2 separate regions of the Homo sapiens genome follow, and region 1 is linked to region 2. Evidence: promoter capture Hi-C in human tissues and cell types (Jung and others, 2019). All regions are on one chromosome and are shown on one strand. Each heading gives the region's core, a stretch centred on a gene start or on the middle of the fragment in contact. The rest is flanking DNA. Distances are from core to core; before and after follow the strand shown. Region 1 overlaps RAP1GAP2 (RAP1 GTPase activating protein 2). Region 2 holds the start of P2RX5 (purinergic receptor P2X 5).

What was found. Contacts are between HindIII fragments. The study calls those that stand out against the background at their distance.
Region 1: a contact is called between a fragment that was not itself captured here and the fragment with the promoter of P2RX5 in region 2, in 1 of the 25 tissues and cell types used here (dorsolateral prefrontal cortex).

Annotation. Positions count from the first base shown.
Region 1 is chr17:2,912,328-2,915,802 of GRCh38, forward strand. All of the region lies in intron 3 of RAP1GAP2 (RAP1 GTPase activating protein 2), which reads left to right. Among named protein-coding and RNA genes, the nearest start is that of RAP1GAP2-AS1, 52 kb to the right of the region's middle. RefSeq lists enhancers at 1-201, 2,702-3,455. The HindIII fragment of the contact is 3,290 bases long and covers 1-3,119 here.
Region 2 is chr17:3,694,534-3,698,356 of GRCh38, forward strand. It overlaps P2RX5 (purinergic receptor P2X 5), which reads right to left and starts at 1,622. Exons shown (of 12, transcript NM_002561.4): 1 at 1,336-1,622. The coding sequence starts at 1,472. P2RX5-TAX1BP3 (P2RX5-TAX1BP3 readthrough (NMD candidate)) reads right to left here and starts at 1,871. Exons shown (of 15, transcript NR_037928.1): 1 at 1,336-1,871. RefSeq lists enhancers at 693-1,209, 1,322-1,371 and a silencer at 1,492-1,851. The HindIII fragment of the contact is 15,075 bases long and covers 1-3,823 here.

The sequences.
Region 1 (3,475 bases), core at 225-2,724, 780 kb before region 2:
TGTAGCACAGCCCCCGGCCTGATTTCGTCTCTTCTTTTGCTCCTGGTTCCTGCCTCCTGTCTTCTGTTAGGCTGTGCAGGGAGACTTGCCCCTCATCAGGGTGGAGTGACAGTGTCAGCCCCCCATACATCCACCAGCTCTGGATGGATGAAGGGAGGAGGCATTTGTGGGAGGGTTGACGGGAGCCTTTCTGGGCTGGGGCAGGAAGGGCTGAAGGACATCAGCAAGGAGGTTTGGTTTTTCCCTCTTCAAGAAAACCCTGTGTAGGGACAGGAGAGGACAGATATATATTCCCTCCATCCCTACTGCTGGAGGGAGGCCCTTGCTGAAGCTCTGTGGGTCCTGGGAGAGTCACCTCTGGTCTCCACATCGATTGTGTTTCTGTTGCCGCTCCGGACATGGTTGGGATACAACCCCATCTCCTCAGGAGCCACTGCCCATTGTTCTCTTGACTCCATCCAGGAGCCAAGGAAGTTCACATCTGATTTAATGCAGGCATGAGGAAGGGCTTATTTGGCTACTGAGGGTGAGGATGCTAACTAGGAGGCTTTAAGAACATGGAGATGTTGGCTGGGCATGGTGGCACATGCCTGAAATCCCAGCATTTTGGGAGGCTGAGGCAGGAGGATCCCTTGAGGCCAGGAGTTTGAGACCAGCCTGGGCAACACAGTGAGACCCCATTTCTACAAAAAATTAAAAAATTAGCTGGGCCTATTGGCTCATGCCTATAGTCCCAGCTACTCTGGAGGCCAAGGTGGGAAGATGGATTGAGCCCAGGAGATTGAGCTTGCAGTGAGTTATGATTGCACCACTGCACTCTAGCCTGGGTGACAGAGCAAAATCCTGTTTCAAAAAAAAAGAAAAAGAAAACATGAAGATGTCTGCATGTGCACCTACTTACCTGCATGCATTTCCCTCCTCACCTGTGCACACCTGAGCATGTGCCTATTTTCCCTAATTCTGTTCTCTTTTTTTTTTGAGATGGAATCTCGCTCTTGTCACCCAGGTTGGAGTGCAGTGGCGTAATCTCAGCTCACTGCAACCCCTGCTTCCTGGGTTCAAGCGATTCTCCTCCCTCAGCCTCCCGAGTAGCTGGGATTACAGGCACACGCCACCATGCCCAGCTAATTTTTGTATTTTTAGTAGAGATGGGGTTTCACCATGTTGGTCAGGCTGCTCTCAAACTCCTGACCTCAGGTGATCCGCCGGCCTCAGCCTCCCAAAGTACTGGGATTACAGGCGTGAGCCACCACACTCGGCCTTCTGTTCATGTTTTAAGGCCAACTTGCTTATGCTTCTGGAAGATTACTCTAGGTGTAACTGGATTTTTAAAAATTTGCAGACACAGAAATGCGTAAGTCTTAATTGTATTGTATACTTTGACTAATGATACACCCACGTGAGCCATACCTTGATCAAGAAACAGGACATTTCTGCAACCCCAGAAAGTTCCCATTGTCCTGACCCAGTCAATCATAACTGCCCCCTTGAGGAGCAAACAGTGTTCTGATTTTTTTCAAAAGTGAGTTTTGTCTGTTCTAGAACTTAATTTTTTTTTTTTGAGGTGGAGTCTCGCTCTGTTGCCCAGGCTGGAGAGCAGTGACGCAATCTCTGCTCACTGCAGCCTCCGCCTCCCGGGTTCAAGGGATTCTCCTGCCTCAGCCTCCCCAGTAGCTGGGATTACAGGTGCCCACTACCACTCCCGGCTAAGTTTTTTGTATTTTTAATAGGGACGGGGTTTCACCATGTTGGCCAGGATGGTCTCGAACTCCCAACCTCAAGTGATCCGCCTTCCTCAGGCCTCCCAAAGTGCTGGGATTACAGGCGAGAGCCACCATGCCTGGCCGGTGACTGTTTATATGAAACTGCTACACTGTTTGCCAAATGGTCAGGCCATCTTATATCCTCACCAGCAGTGTCATTTGAGTTCTCGCTGCTCTGCATCCTCATCAACATTTGCCATTGTTGGTTTTGACAATTTTAGCTACTTGAACGGTATCTCATTGTGGTTTTAATCCACATTTTCTCATGACTAATGATGTTGAATATTTTTCATATGCTTATTGACTATTCTTATAGTTCTTTTTTCCCTTCCTCCTTCCTTTAAATTCGGTAGTCTTCTTGTAGGCGTTCTTTACATATTCTAGTCAAGTTCGTTTCTTTTCTTCTTCTTCTGTTTTTGAGGCAGAGTCTCGCTCTGTCGCCCAGGCTGGAGTGCAGTGGCCCGATCTCAGCTCACTGCAAGCTCTGCCTCCTGGGTTCACACCATTCTCCTGCCTCAGCCTCCCGAGTAGCTGGGACTACAGGCGCCCGCCACCACGCCCGGCAAATTTTTTGTATTTTTAGTAGAGACGGGGTTTCACCGTGTTAGCCAGGATGGTCTCAATCTCCTGACCTTGTGATCCACCCACCTCGGCCTCCCAAAGTGCTGGGATTACAGGTGCGAGCCACTGTGCCCGGCCACTTCTTTTTTTTTTTTTTTGAGACGGAGCCTTGCTCTGTCACCCAGGCTAGAGTGCAATGGCGCCATCTCGGCTCACTACAACCTCCACCTCCTGGGTTCAAACGATTCTCCTGCCTCAGTCCCCCGAGTAGCTGGGATTACAGGTGCCCGCCACCACGCCCAGCTAATTGTTTTATTCTCAGTAAAGACAAGGTTTCACCATGTTGGCCAGGCTGGTCTTGAACTCCTGACCTCGTGATCCGCCCGCCTCGGCCTCCCAAAGTGCTGGGATTACAGACGTGAGCCACTGCGTCCGGCCTTCTTCTTTTTAGAAATAGAGATGGGGACTCACTATGTCGCCCGGGTTGGTCTCAAACTCTGGCCTCAAGTGATCCTCCTGCCTGGGCTCCCAAATTGTTGGGATTACAAGCTTGAGCCACCATTTCTGGCCCATTTCTTTTCTTGTTTTTATTTTTTGGATACAAGGTCTCACTTTGTTGCCCAGGCTGGAGTGCAGTGGTGCGAACAGAGCTCACTGCAGCCTCAACCTCCTGGGCTCAAGCCATCCTTCCACCTCAGCCCCCCGAGTAGCTGGGACTACAGGCTGGTGCCACCACGCCTGACTAATTTTTGAATTTTTTGTAGGGAGAGACAGGGTTTCACCCTGTTGCCCAGGCTGGTCTTGAACTCCTGAGCTCAAGCGATCCGCCCACCTTGGCTTTCCAAAGTGCTGGTATTACAGGCGTGAGCCAACGCGCCTGGCCCATTTCTTTTCTTAACGGTGTCTTTAATGAGCAGAAGTTTTAATTTTGAAGAAGTCTAATTATGGACTCTTTCCTTTTATGTCTGTAGCTTTGTGTGTCCTAAGAAGTCTTTGCTTACCCCAGCTCACAAAGATTTCCTTCCATGTATTCTTTTAGAAGCTTTATTTTTATTTATTTTTTTTGAGACAGAGTCTCGCTCTGTCACCAGGCTGGAGTGCAGTGGCGTGATCTCGGCTCACTGCAACCTCTGCTTCCTGAGTTCAAGCGA
Region 2 (3,823 bases), core at 372-2,871:
TTAGTTAAATATGTCCTGCTTTCCCTGCCATGTGAGGACACAGCGAGAGGGTGGCCATCTGCAAGCCAAGGAGAGAGCCCCCCCTGAGACCCCGAACCATGCTACCACCCTCGTCTCAGATTTCCACATCCAGGACTGCGAGAATTAAATTTCTATTGTTCAAGCAAAAGCAACTCCATTTATTCATTCATGCGTTCATTTCACATCTATTCCCTAAGCAGTTAAGTGCTGCTGGGGCCCCACCCTCAGGGCATTCCCGGACTGACAGCGACATCAGGCAAATGATCCCCCAAATAAGCCCAATAATTACACTGTGGGAAGGCCAGGGAGGAAGGGAGAGGGAGTTACTGGAAAGCCCAGATCTGGGGGCTGAGTGGATGCTAAGGGAGTGGAGGAGGACGGGCAGGCCTGGCTGAGCAACAGCACAGCGCCTACGAGGCCGCTCAGGTGGGAGGCGGCCAGGGGCCTGGGGATGCAGCTCAGAGAACGCGGACTGCTGGACCTCCGAGGGAGAGCCAGGCGTCAGGGCTGCCCTCCCAGGAGGAAGCAGGAGGAACTCCACCGCATTTACTGAACGAGTGGAATGAGGCGCATCCCCATTGTCCAGCGCTGCTTCTCCCCTCCACCTGCTCACCCCCGACCCACCCCGGGGTCAGGGCTCTGAAGGCGCCTGGCAGAGCAGCCTCCACAAGTTGCCTCTTTGGCTTTGTGGCGCCAGCTCCTGCCAGGTGGCATGAGGATGGGGGAAGGGGATGGCCGAGCTGGGTGCAGAGATAGAGGCCTCTGGGCAGGACCCCCAGCTGGACACCAGAGAGGCTGGCCGCGGGTGGGGCAAGTTGACCGGAAGGGAGCTCAGGAACATGCCGGGCTGATGAGTTTCTCCAGCTCTGAGTAGGCAGTGACACCCTGTGATTATAAATAACCTGCCGGCGCCTGGGTCAGCTGCCAGGCCAAGGCCCAGGGAGGCTCCTGGGGCGACAGCTGCCACCCAGCCCCCTGGCATCCCTGCCCCCTTCCCATGGCCCTAACACGTGGGGACCCGACTCTGGGAGAAGCAGCTGCAGGGAAAGCCTGATAAATCGAGGAAACCAGAAGGCCCCTGCCCACCTCTCATCACCTCTAGCGCCAGTGGGGGAGTGGAGAGCCCCCTCTCTACACCCTACTCCTACACCCAAGGACCCAAAGAGGACCCCCACAGCAAGCAGGCTCACAGACCCCCAGCTACCGGGAAAACCGCGTGCACGCCTGCGAATTCCAGGACCCTGGAGAAGGACGCGGCGGCTGGCACCCGCCCTGCCCCTCCCCCGCCTTCCCAAAAGTCCGCGGAGAACTTACACGACCAGGTACGCCAGGATGGAGGCCTGCAGCAGCCGGTACAGCAGGCCCACCTTCTTGTTCTTGGCGATGACATACTTCTCGGTCTTGTAGTCGAACAGCGACAGGCAGAGCCCCTTGCAGCCCGCCTGCCCCATGGCGCGCTCTCAGCCGGGCTTGCGGACCGCCCGGCCCACGTGCGCTCATGGGGAGCACTCGGTCCCTCGGTCCCTGCGCGCCCGGCGCCCGCCTCGGCCCGTCTGCGCCCGCTCAGCTGCAGCCCGGGGTGTCCGGCAGGGCTGCGGGGCGCGGGGGCGGGTCGGGGCGGCCTTTTATTGACGCGGTTGAGAAAGCCTCGGCTGGGAGCTGGGCGGCGGCGAGCACCGGAACCTCAGACCGCGACCTTGCCGCTACCTCTTCTTCCTCCTCCTCCTCCTCCTCCCCTGACACAGTGACACCCCTGCAACCTACTCCCCAGCCACCGGTCTGGGAGCGCAGCCCCCCGGATGCGCAGGACCGCCCTGTGCTGTTGCCCAGCTGAAAGCAGCGATCGCGGAGGAGAGGAAGTGAAAGGGGGAAGGGCTCCTTTTTATTTTATTTTAAATTTATTTATTCATTTATTTTTGAGACGGAGCCTCGCTCTGTCGCCGAGGCTGGAGTGCAGTGGTGCGATCTCAGCTCACTGCTACCTCCGCCTCCCGGGTTCAAGCGATTCTCCTGCCTCAGCCTCCCAAGTAGCTGGGACTACAGGCGTGATAATTTTTGTATTTTTAGTAGAGACGGGGTTTCACCATGTTGGCCAGGCTGGTCTTGAACTCCTGACCTCAGGTGATCCGCCCACCTCGGCCTCCCAAAGTGCTGGGATTACAGGCGTGAGCCACCGCGCACGGCCGGGAAGAGCTCCGTTTAAAGCAAAACTCCCCTTTCTCTCGCAAAGAAATCCCAAAGGGTTCTTCCTATTGAATAGATGGGGAACTGAGGCCAGGGGAGGAAGGAAGGGGACACAACAGGTTTCTCCATTCACCTCGCGCCAGGTCTCCTGCCAGGGAGATACATTCTTGCTCCGTGGGCAGGGGGTGGTTGTGGGGGGGAAGCCGTGGCTCCCCCACAGGCTGGAAGAGACAAGACTTGTCCCACCTGAGGCTGCCTGTGTCTGCTGCGACTAATGCGCGTTTCTACTGCAGCAGCTGCTGCAGGTTTAAAAGCCCACACTCCGGCGGAGTCGGTGGTCAGGCAGGTCCCGAGTGCCGGCAGCATGAAGACCTCCCTCCCACACTCAGGGCGGATGGTGCGGGGGTGGGGGGCAGACGGGGTGGGGGCGGGGAGACACAGGCAACCCACCCTAGGATCCTAAAAATATGCCTGGAGAGTGCGCATGTACCAACTGTTTGGAATGGTTCCCAACGCACAAGAAATAGAACTGATCCATGCAGCTATGACTGCAACCCTCTCAGTATGTGGAATTCAACAGGAGTGGGAGTGGGATGAGGGAGGGCCTCCGGGGGGGCAGGTTTAGAACTCCTGACAGCCAAAGACGCAGGGCCCTGGGTGAGCGCGGTGTGGTGAGGAGCTGCGCACGCTTATTTTCTGCATCCTGCAGTCTGACCACAAGCAGTCCTGCTCCTCTCCCTACCCCTGGCTTTCACACACAAAGAGGCTCCCTTCCCTAAGCCACAGACTCGGGGAACTGGAAGGTACCCTGAAATTCATCAGTGTGATTCTAAAGTAAAAGCCCCAAGGAAGGTGTCCAGTTTCAAAGTGCATGGGAATCATGTGGAAGAAAAAAAGGCAAATTCCTAGGCCCTGCCCCTCAAATTTTCATTCACGAAATCTAAGATGGGGCTGGGAACCTGTATTTTGCTCTCAAACTGTCATTTGGGAAAGCGTGGATCTTTGCATCTTTTCATCCATTTCAACTCAACTGCCATTTCTTCAAAAAGGCCTGTTATTATTGCCCACCCAAAGTAGCCCCCAGTCCCAGCCCAGCCACTTTCTATCCCATTATCTCATCTTATTCCCTTAGAGCACCTGTCACTATCCAGTAGGATCTCGTTGACTTAGTGACTGTGTCCCATGCTAAGACCAGAAGCTCCCGGAGAGCAGGGACCATGCCTTTGGACATCTCTGTATGTCCCTGTGCCTGCCACATAATAGTTCTAGACATATTATTGAATGAGTGGACAAACCTGGCCCTGATTTTTTTTTTTTTCAACAGGGAGGGCATTTCGATTCCACCCTGCCCCAGTCATGACTGCGAATTTTAGGGGCTGAAGTCATCTTGGCTCTCCTGCCAGCCTCCTCCTCAGCCCCCTGCTAACACAGCACTCCAATGCTCACTAAAGCAGCCGCCACCGAGTGACATCACCCCTAAGAAGATGCCCGTCACCCTGACAGTGCTGCTCCAGGGTAAGGTATAGAGGGGAGGTGGACTTTCAGAGTCTCACAGGAGTCGCCTGAATTGCATCTGCCCTGGAGAAGAGCTTGCCCATCAACCCCAGCACAGGACAAC